Linked DNA regions of Homo sapiens: regions 2 and 3 are each linked to region 1. The links are contacts of gene promoters, found by promoter capture Hi-C in human tissues and cell types (Jung and others, 2019). All regions are on one chromosome and are shown on one strand. The core of a region is centred on a gene start or on the middle of the fragment in contact, and the rest is flanking DNA. Distances in the headings are between cores, read along the strand shown. Region 1 holds the start of SGSM1 (small G protein signaling modulator 1). Region 2 overlaps SGSM1 (small G protein signaling modulator 1). Region 3 overlaps PIWIL3 (piwi like RNA-mediated gene silencing 3).

Region 1 (3,758 bases), core at 1-2,500:
ATCACTCATTCACAGACTCATGCACCACACAATATACACACACAGACCCACCCTCACAAAAACAGATACAAAGACACACATAGATACGTGTACACACAGTGCAAAGAGATACACTTAGGTATCTCCAGACAGATGCACAGACATTCTCATACGCACACACTCACAGCCACAGGTCCTCACCCATGCAGGTATACACACCAGAGCACGCAGTCCAGGCATCGAGATGCTACCCCAAGGACTATAAATTCTGTCTATGGGGTTCTGGGAGGTCATTGGCCATGAGCCCTAAAGACTAGACTGCCCCCCTCTCCACGCGCTGACCCCAAGGAGAGTGGAGGGGCAGAGGAATGGCAGAACCTCTCTGATTCTCACCCTCTGAATGTGGGGTGGGAGTGGGGCGGGGGGAGTGAAGGGACCCCTACTGCCAGGGGAGCAGCTCACTGACCCGTGACTCTCAGGGAGGGAGTCCCCTGGCTCTTGGAGGTGGCTCCAAGGACTGAGAATTCGGGGGCTGGGAAGGGAGGTTTTATTTTCCTTCTGCCTTTTCCTGAAGCGTGCCCCACCTTCGGCAGCCCCATTCAGAGCCCCTCCTCCAGCACACCCTGTGGGGGGCGTCCCCCTAGCAGCTTCTCTCTCTTGGAAGGTCCCCTTCCTGAGCCGCGCCCACCTGCTCCTCCACAAGAGGAGGTCCTATCGGGATACATCCAGGTGTGCCCCACACCTGGAGGGCCCTCACGCTACATCCGCCCCCGCAAAAAGCCTCAAATGGGCCAAAGCCTCCCCACACCTACGCCCACCCCCAAACTCCCTCGCTGCGCCTCCTGCCCTGCGGGAGGTCAATGCCCACCCAGGTGAGCCCCACACCTGTTCTGGCCGCCCCCCCGCCGCCAGAGGCCACCCTTCCACGAAGACTCTTTTCCCGTTTGGCCGCTGCTGCCGGGGGAGTCCTGCCCAGTGCCCCCACCCCGGCACCCACCTCCTTCTTGACGGTGCGTAGCAGCCTCTGTCGGGTCTCCGCCTCTGTGGGACAAGAAACGAGAGCCGCGGGTCAGCCGAGAGAGGGTGCGGGGGCCGGGCGCTGCCCTCCCGCCGCCCTCGTGTCCAGCGGCCTCTTACCCGCGGGGGCCGAGGCCATGGCTCCGAGCGCTGCGTTCCGAGTCCCAGGAGGCGGTGGCGGCGGTGGCGGCGGTAGCTCCTCCGGCCGCGGCGCTGCTGCTGCAGCCGCGGCGGGGCGGGGCCGAGCGCTGAGTGACGGCCGGAGGGCGCCCGACGTCAGGACCCGAGGCGGCCGCCCCACCCCTCCGGAAAGCCACCGCTCGGCGGGGCAGCCGGGTCGCCTGCGCCAGGAGCCTTCGCGCCAAGCACGCACGCTCCCTCCCGCGCACCCAGCGCCCGAGCCTCTCAGGCTCCCCCAACCTCCACGCCAGCGCCCGCGTCCCTCCCTCTTCCCTAGGGCGGGGAAGGAAAGCGTCCGTCCTGAACCCTCCTCTGTGGGCCAGGCTCCAGGAAGTCACAGGAAATGGTGGGGCTACTACCGATATTCTCCAAGCCTCAGTTTTCTCATCTTTAAAATGGGTATAATGTGGTATAAAATGGGCATAATGGGTCTCAGAACGATCTGAGCCTTAAGTGAGATATTGGATGTGAAGCCCTTAATACAGACCCAGGGGGAAAGGCCAGCGAGCATAAATGCTTGCCACTGTTACTGTTATTATTATTAATTATTATTATTGAGGGTCTTCCAGCCGGTCGCGGTGGCTCACGCCTGTAATCCCAACACTTTGGGAGGCCGAGGCGGGCAGATCACTTGAGGTCAGGAGTTCGAGACCAGCCTGGCCAACATAGTGAAACCCCGTCTCTACGAAAATACAAAAATTAGCCGGACATGATGGCGAGCTGCCTGTAATCCCAGCTACTGGGGAGGCTAAGGCAGGAGAATCTCTTGAACCCGGGAAGCAGAGGTTACAGTGATCCAACATGGCGCCATTGCACTCCAGCCTGAGCGACAGAGTGAGACTCCGTCTCAAAAAATAAAAAAAATACAAATACAAAAATTAGCCAGGCATGGTGGCGTGCTCCTGTAATCCCAGCTACTCAGGAGGCTGAGGCATGAGAATTGCTTGAACCCTGGAGGCAGAGGTGTCAGTGAGCCAAGATTGTGCCACCACACTCCAGCCTGGGCAACAAAAGTGAAACTCCATCTCAAAAAAAAAAAAAAAAAAAAGAGTCTTCCAAGATACACTGGTTATCCATTCAGGAGAGGCCGGGACTTAAGTGGCTCCCTCCCCGACATGCAGGTCACTGGAGGAGTGGGGTTTTCCCAGGAGTCTGGCCCCAAAAGGAGGCACTTGTCAGCCAGGATCTCTGGGGCTGAGCAAGCAGTGGGCTCTGTGGGAAAAGCCTTGTTCCATCAAGAGCCCCTGGTCACCCCAAGTCCCTAACTGTATCCACCCAGAATGCAACTCAGGTCAATATTTATTGAGCACCTACTCTGTGCCAAGTGACTGTGCTAGAGATTTCTAAGTGAGCAAGACAGACAATGAACTCTGCCCTCATGGAGTTTAGGAGGCGGACAACAAAATATGTAAGAAAAGGACAGACCATGCTGGAAAGTTCTGGAGAAAAATTAAGTAGGCAAGGGGGACAGGGAGGGCCCAGACCCCTGGGGATCGTATTCTGAAGTAGGGTGGTTGAGGGAGGCCCCACTGAGCAGGTGACATTTAAGCAAAGAGGAAAAGGAGTAGGCCATGGGGATTTCTGGAGGAAGAGCAGTTGAGTCAAGGGAACAGCAAATGCAAAGTCCCTGAGGAGGGAGTGTGTCCAGTCAAACAGTGACAAATAGCACAGATGCCTGTGGGGCTGGAGTGGTGTGAACAATGGGGACGGTGGTGGGATGTTGGCCAGAGAGGTGCAGGGCCAAAACCCTGTATGACTTTGATGGTGATGTTAAGGATTTGCAATGCCTTTTAGGGTCCCCCAGTATTCAGGCCTTCCTTCAGAAGGACTAGAGGGCAGCTTAGAGTGCCTCTCCGTGCAGCAGTGGATCCAGAGCCCCCTTTTTTCCATTGGTCAGTGTCAGGGGTCTCTGGCCGTAAGCCACAGAAGCTGACTTTGGCTTCCTCAGGCAAAAGGAAATAAACTGGGAAGATAATATGTGATCCCAGAGCCCATGGGAGCCTGGAGAACTGGGAAATGGGATGAAATCAAGGTGGCTCTGGAAGGCCAGAAAGGGGAATCTTGGGAATATTTGCCTGGCAAGGACAGTGTGGTTAGGGCACTGCTGCTCTGGTAAAGAGAATGCCATTCGTTTAAGGTTTTCATCCTATGGAGGGAGTGCCTGATTGTCCTGACCTGGGACACAAGCCTGCCCATTGGCTTGGGGAGAGGTGTCTCAATCACAAACCCCTGCTCCACAATCTCCAGCAAGTCCCCCAGGAGAATGGGAAATGGTTGCTTGGCAGCAAAAATAATCATATATTGCGCACCTACTATGTGGCAGGCACTGCGCTAAGGGCTTTGGGTTTTGCTCACATGATCTTATTGACCCTCCTTCCACCCCACGCTAACCCTATGAGCCTTATGTCATTGACAAAGCCAAGCCTGGAGGGGGTTTCATCCCTGTTTGTTTAACAAGTGTGTGGCCGCCAGGATTCTGACCTGAGGACCAAAGTGATTGATCCATTAGTTCCTCTCCTTGGCTTCACCCCTAAGTTAACTGGGGTACTTTAGGAAGGTGGTAGGGTGCCTAAGCCTCACTC
Region 2 (3,724 bases), core at 362-2,861, 48 kb before region 1:
ATGAGGCCTGGGGTGATTTTCAGGGCTCCTACCCTGCTTCCTGCCCTCATGTAAGGTCCCTCCCACTGCCCCACTGTCCACCCCACTCACACAGAGGGCAGGACGCTTGGTGGGCGAGTCCTGCCGCACGTGGGAGCTGTGGATGCGGTGCCTCTGGACAAGTTCGTCAGCCGAGGGATCGGTCCAGAAGTGATCTGCAGTCTTCATCTTGGTGTACTCTAGGGCACAGGGCCCCACTGAGGGGCATGTGGGGGCTGGAAACCCACTGCCCCGGAAAGTCCTCCCGCATGTCTACCAGCAGATGGCCGCCCATCTCACTACCCTCCCCTCCAGCCAGCTAGAACAGTGCTGCATTTCCATGGGCAAGGCTGGACAGGGGTGAGAGAGTCCTGGAGAAGGTGCCCCTCAGACTCAAGACCACGGGTCTAGATGAAGCTCAGCACACAGGACAACTTACCCAACAAAGATGCAAGGATGGGGCCGTCCACAGGGTCCATCAGGAGAGCTTCCTTCTCATAGTATTTACTAGCAAGAGGAGAGAATATGCAGGTTTGGATGGAGACCAGCAGAGGACGCACAATCCACAGATGAGAGTTCAATCCCCAGTGTCACTCGGTTACCACCCAGAGCCTCAGCTGCCCCATCTGTAAAATGGGGATAATAATAATATAGCTCATAGGGCTGAAAAAAGGATTTCTTTTTTTTAAGATAAGGTCTTTCTCTGTCACACAGGCTGGAGTGCAGTGGTACAATCAAAGCGCACTGTAACCTCGAACTCCTGGGCTCAAGTGATCCTTCCACTTCAGCCTCCTAATTAGCTGGGGCTAGAGGCATGCGCCACCACTGGCTAATTTTCAAATTTTAAATTTTTGGTAGATATAGGGTCTCATTATGTTGCCCAGGCTGGTCTTGAATTCCTGGCCTCAAGTGATCCCACCACCTTGGCCTCCAAAGCACTGGGATTACAGGCATAAGCCACCTGTAAGCCCAGCCTGCTGGAAGGACTTTTGAGAGAACCAAAAATTAAAGGTATTTAGCGGGGTGCTCAGCATGTACCTCCTTAACACATGGTCATGATAGAGCCTTTATAATAGTAACAAGAATAATAATTAGCAGGTTGTGGAGGCCTGGCTGACTCTATCTGCCTCTACCACATCTCCCATTTGAGACAGGAAGTGACTTAGAGGCTCAGATGATGTCTGCCCTTCTATTACTGGGGCAACCAAATGCTGTTTAGCAGCAGTGCGTACTGAAAGGCTGTGTAACAGGCTTTCCTGCCTTGATAACTAATATTGAGAGCACTGGCCTCAAATATGCTCAAAAATGCCCCCTGGGATCTGGCTCTGAAAAATAGCAAGTGATGCCATCTGACATGGTTTGGCTGTGTCCTCACCCAAATCCCAACTTGAATTGTATCTCCCAGAATTCCCACATATTGTGGGAGGGACCCAGGGGGAGGTAATTGAATCATGGGGGCTGGTATTTCCCATGCTATTCTTGTGATAGTGACTAAGTCTCACGAGATATGATGGGTTTATCAGGGGTTTCTGCTTTTGCATCTTCCTCATTTTTCTCTTGCCGCCGCCATGTAAGAAGTGCCTTTTGGCCAGGCGCAGTGGCTCACACCTGTAATCCTAGCACTTTGGGAGGCCAAGGTGGGCGGATCATGAGGTCAGGAGATCGAGACCATCCTGGCTAACACGGTGAAACCCCATACCTACTAAAAATACAAAAAAAAAAAAAAAAAAAAATTCACCAGGCGTGGTGGTGCCTGTAGTCCCAGCTACTCGGGAGGCTGAGGCAGGAGAATGGCGTGAACCTGGGAGGCGGAGCTTGCAGTGAGCCAAGATGGCGCCACTGCACTACAGCCCAGGCAACAGAGCAAGACTCCATCTCAAAAAAAAAAAGAAGTGCCTTTTGCCTCCTGCCATGATTCTGAGGCCTTCCCAGCCATGTGGAACTGTAAGTCCAATTAAACGTCTTTTTGTTCCCAGTTTTGGGTATATCTTTATCAGCAGCATGAAAACGAACTAATACACCATCAACACAATGTTTGTGCTGAATGTTTTTGGATTTGTTTGTTTGAGTTATTGTGTAGTGGTTTCTAATTTCTTGAAAACTCATACAGTCTAGAAACAATTTCAGGATTGAAAAGAACCTTGTTCTGACCTCCCAAGGGATCTCAGGCCCACAGAGGGTAAGCGATTTATTTGCTGGAGGCCACAGAGCAGGCAGATACAGGCTTGGGCTGAGCCCACATGGCTCAGCTCTTGCCAACATACAGAAGGAAGTAAAGGACACAGGATCTGGAGTGAGACAGAGTGGGTGGGAGCCCAGCTCTGCCTCTCCCTGCCTTGCTGTGTGTCACTGGGCAAGTGACACCCCTCTCTGAGCTTTGGTCCTCAGCTGTAAAATGGGAGGAAGTATAGAACTCAAATGCCTGGATTGTTGGAAGGATTAAATGACAACTTGCTTACATAGCACAGCACAGAGCCCAACATCAGGAAATTCTCACAAAATGGTGGCAACATCATCGTAATCTTACCCCCCAAGAGTCTTCCATCAACTGGAATATCGTATGAGCCAGAATTGACATGCTCTGGACTTATTCAATATCAAGGCTGTACATTTTGGTGTCAAATCTGAAGATAATACATCAAAACACTTTTCACTTTGCCATCACCCAGTTTCTAAAAATCAGCAGAATTATACGATCAAAAACTTTGAACATGCTGCCTTAAAAATCAGCAAGTAGGGGTCTCAAAATAAATAAAAAACGACCAGGCACAGTGGCTCATGCTTGTAATCCCAGCACTTTGGGAGGCCAAGGTGGGAGCATCACCTGAGGCCAGGAGTTCGAGACCAGTCTGCCCAATATGGTGAAACCCTGTTTCTACTAAAAATACTAAATTAGCCAGGAGTGGTGGTGCATGCCTGTAAAACCAGCTACTTGGGAGGCTGAGGCATGAGAATCGCTTGAACACGGGACGCAGAGGTTGCAGTGAGTCAAGATTACACCATTCTACTCCAACCTGGGCAACAGAGTGAGACTCCATCTCAAAAATAAAAATAAATTTAAAAATTAGCAGGTAGAGTTGGAACCGAGGTGTGACTGTAAGAAGTAGCTGAAGGGAGTTTCTTTGGGGTGATGAGGTTTATTTCGGAATAATTCTGTATCCTGATGGTGATGTGGGTTATATGAAACTACACATGCGTTAAAAGTTTCATAGAACTGTATAAAAAAATTCAGTAAATATAAAAATTGATGAAATCCAAAAAAGTTTTGCAGTTAGTTAATAGTATTGTACCAATGTCAATTTCCTGGTTTTGATCACTGCACTATGGGTATGTAAAATGTTATCATTGGGGTTAGGCAATTAGTAATCTCTGTACTAATTTTGCAACTTCTATGTAAATGTAAATTAAAAATAAAAAGTTGAAATGGAAAAAAAGCAGGTTGACATTGCTTCTCAAATAAATTACTAATTCCCTTTGACCAACTTAATCAGCAGGTCATATGCTCAAGGTCATATGCCAAAGGCAATAATTAAAGAGGCCCAGAAACCTTCATGGGGCAGGAGGCAGAGACATGTTATTACTAGAAGGTAAATAGGGAACTGGAGATCCAGAGCTTGGATTTCTTGCAGTTTCTTTCCTGTCTCTAGGCCTCTGCACCTGCTATTCCCTCCACCAGAAACACTTTGTTCCCCATCCCATCACCTGG
Region 3 (3,561 bases), core at 224-2,723, 54 kb after region 1:
CAATTGTAGACTTCACTCTTCTTGAAATCCCTAATGCCAGTCCATTTGTTCTGAACCCTACCTTGCACATAACACTAAGCTGTTTCTGAATTTCTTTCCTTTTGCTCTTTTGTGGGCATTTAGCTGGTTTAAAAATCAGTGCTTAGTTATAACCCATCAGCAATTTCCCATTTGAAGGAAGTTTTAAAATCTTTCTACAGCAGAAACCTTAAATTGGTAAGAGAATGGATTTAAAGAACCAGTTACTTAGCCAACACAACCTTACAGGGACACAATTTGAGGACTCACACTTCTCAATTTTAAAACTTACCAGAAAGTTCTGGTAATCAAGACAGTGTGATGTTGGTCTAAAGACAGACAGAGACCAATGAAATAGAGTACAGAAGGTTAACCCTCCACTTCGTCAGCTGACTTCTGACAAGTGTGTCAAGGCAATTCAATAGGGGAAAGAATAGTCTTTTCAATAATGTTGCTGGGACAACTGAACATCCACCTGCTTCTTCCTCATGCAATTCACACAATTCCAGTTTAACTCAAAAACCAACTCAATAGACCTAGATGTAAGAACTAAAAGCATAACATTCTTAGAAAATATAGGACTGAATCTTTTTGACTTTGAGCTAGGGAAACCTTAGATAAGCCACTCAAAGCAGAAGTGATAACAAAAGAAACATAGATACATTGGGCTTCACCAAATTAAAAACTTATTCAAACTATACTATCAAAATTGTGAAAACACAACTGGAAAAACTGGGGAAAATGTTTGCAAATCACATAAGTAACCTGTATCTAGAATATACAAACAATACTTGAGAGACAACATAATTTTTAAAATGGACAAAAGATCTGATTAGATACTTCTCCAGATATATTTCTTAAAATGTACAAATGATCAATAGATGCGTGAAAACGTTTAACATCAGTAGCCATCATGGAAATGCAAGTGAAAACCACAATGAGATATCATTTCACACCCACTAGGATGGTTAAAATTAGATATTGACAAGTGTTGGCAAGGATGTGGAAAGATCAGAAGCAACTCTCTCGTATGCTGCTTGTAGGAATATTAAATGGTATGGCTTCTTTGTAAAACAGTCTGGCACTTTCTTAAAATGCTAACGATATGCATTACTGAAGTGGCCTCGTTTGAGGAAATATATGAGGTTTGTCTCACACTAAGGAAAACAAAGACATAGACCCACAAAGTGTGGGTTTAGGAGCGGAAAGCTGAATAGGTGAAAGAAGAGAAAAGTGCCCCCTTGCAGGGGGAGGGGCATTCCGAATGAATCTCCTGCTTTGCAGAGGGATGCAGTTGGTTTTATAGAGGGGCTTGAGGAGGTGGTGTCTGATTTACGTAGGGCCCAGAGGATTGGTTGGACCAGGTGTGCCATTTACATAGCCTGCGAAGAGGCTGGCCATCCCACCCTAATCTTTCATTATGCAGATGTGATCTCCATCTGGTGGGCGGGCACCATAACACCTGCACACATGGCAGGGACAAGGAGAAGGGAAGAGAACCTCCATGTTGGATATACTGGCTTCTGGCATAACTGCCAGCATCCAACTATGTAAGCTTCCAGCTTGCTTATCTATGTTTGCAGCTTGATTTTTTCAGGCTGCTTTTTGTTAGAAAAATGATTTGGAGGCTGCTTTTTTATTAAGAGAAAATTCCACCGAGAACTTTTACCCTTACTAACCACCTAAATTCCATTTTAACTCCTATATCATCACCATATGAACCAGAAATTTTACTCCTACTTAAATACACAAGAGAAATGAGAACATATTTATTAAAATCGGCACATAAATGTTCATAACCTTATTCATGGTAACCAAAAGTATATACAACCATAATGTCCAGCTGGTGAATGGATAAACAAAAGGTGGGATATCATACAATAGAATATTATTTGGAAATGAAAAGAATTAAGTGCCAAGACTTACTACAGCATGGATGAACCTTAAACATGATGCTAAGTGAAAGAAGCCAGTCGGGAAAGAGCACACGTTGCATGACTCAGTTTACGTGAAATGAATGAGCAAATGTGTTGAGACACGAAGTAGGCTAGTGGCTGCCTGAAGGCTGGTGGATTAGGCTAAAATGGGAAGTGACTGCCTATGGTTATGCTGCTGCTTTGTCTTGATGATTGCACAACTCTGTGGCTGTAGTAAAAACCAGGTGATCGTATGCTCAGATGGGTGAGTTGTACAGTATGTGAATTACATCTTAAGTAAATCTAATATATTCTGCAATTCCTTGCAGGATTAAAAATGTCTATTTTCTGTGTGGATGGTTCCATGTGATGAATAAGTCAAATAATACCATATTGTAATTATTCCACAGATACAACAACAAAACCTACAGAGTAGATGATATTGATTGGAAGCAGAATCCTGAAGACACATTTAACAAATCAGATGGCAGCAAAATCACCTATATAGACTACTACAGGCAGGTATGAAACTGTATTTCTTTAAATATATTTAAATTGTAAACCTTCATGTATTTCAGTTTGTGTTATTTAGCTACTTGAACATATTTGTCATATAAACATACATATTTTCCTTTTAGGGGATTATAGCTTGACTTATCTATTATCCATGCATCCACGTGCCTTGTATATAGGGTAATGTCACATAACTAGAATGGTGCCAGTGTGATCCCTTCTTTCCCTTCTTTCAGTCTTAAAAGTGGCTACTATCATACTTTTTTTTTTTTGAGTTGGAGTCTCGTTCCGTCTCCCAGGCTGGAATGCAGTGGCATGATCTCTACTCATTGCAACCTCTACCTTTCAGGTTCAAGCAATTTTCCTGCCTCAGCCTCCCAAGTAGCTGGGACTACAGGCACCTGCCACCACGCCTGGCTAATTTTTGTATTTTTAGTAGAGACGGGGTTTCACCATATTGGTCAGGCTGGCCTCGAGCTTCCGACCTCAGGTGATCCGCCTGCCTTGGCCTCCCGAAGTGCTGGGATTACAGGCATGAGCCACTGCATCCAGCCTACTACCATAGTTTTTTAAATGTGGTTGGGTTGTTTGGTAGATAATCAAATATGGGCCGGGCGCAGTGGCTCACACCTGTAATCCCAGCACTTTGGGAGGCCAAGGAGGGCGGATCACCTGAGGTCAGGAGATCGAGACCAGCCTGACCAAAACGGAGAAACCCCGTCTCTACTAAAAATACAAAATTAGCCGGGCATGGTGGCACGTGCCTGTAATCCCAGCTACTCAGGAGGCTGAAGCAGGAGAATTGCTTGGACCCGGGTGGCGGGGGTTGCAGTGAGCCAAGATCGCGCCGTTGCACTCCAGCCTGGGCAACAGGAGTGAAACTCCATCTCAAAAAAAAAAAAAAGAAAAAAAATCAAATGTGGTAAGACTTCAGATAAGAAAATATTACTTATCTAGAAATCTCAGCCCTGTAGAACTCAGTCCAAAAAGAATAAAAATGATTAACATGTAAAATGATGTCAGTTATGTGCTAATCTTGTAAGACATGGATTCCTCAATCTGAGTGTTCACTGTGAAGAAGCAGCCACTTTTGGCCAGCCAGGGCAGATGGAAA

The links. Contacts are between HindIII fragments. The study calls those that stand out against the background at their distance.
Region 2: a contact is called between a fragment that was not itself captured here and the fragment with the promoter of SGSM1 in region 1, in 2 of the 25 tissues and cell types used here (dorsolateral prefrontal cortex and liver).
Region 3: a contact is called between a fragment that was not itself captured here and the fragment with the promoter of SGSM1 in region 1, in 1 of the 25 tissues and cell types used here (liver).

What each region holds. Positions count from the first base shown.
Region 1 is chr22:24,803,703-24,807,460 of GRCh38, reverse strand. It overlaps SGSM1 (small G protein signaling modulator 1), which reads right to left and starts at 1,250. Exons shown (of 25, transcript NM_001098497.3): 1 at 1,117-1,250; 2 at 977-1,020. The coding sequence starts at 1,135. RefSeq lists a silencer at 1,203-1,412. The HindIII fragment of the contact is 18,100 bases long and covers 1-3,758 here.
Region 2 is chr22:24,851,797-24,855,520 of GRCh38, reverse strand. It overlaps SGSM1 (small G protein signaling modulator 1), which reads right to left. Exons shown (of 25, transcript NM_001098497.3): 6 at 458-525; 7 at 91-236. Among named protein-coding and RNA genes, the nearest start is that of SGSM1, 47 kb to the right of the region's middle. The HindIII fragment of the contact is 6,903 bases long and covers 1-3,724 here.
Region 3 is chr22:24,750,282-24,753,842 of GRCh38, reverse strand. It overlaps PIWIL3 (piwi like RNA-mediated gene silencing 3), which reads left to right. Exons shown (of 21, transcript NM_001255975.1): 9 at 2,345-2,456. Among named protein-coding and RNA genes, the nearest start is that of PIWIL3, 23 kb to the left of the region's middle. The HindIII fragment of the contact is 4,992 bases long and covers 1-3,561 here.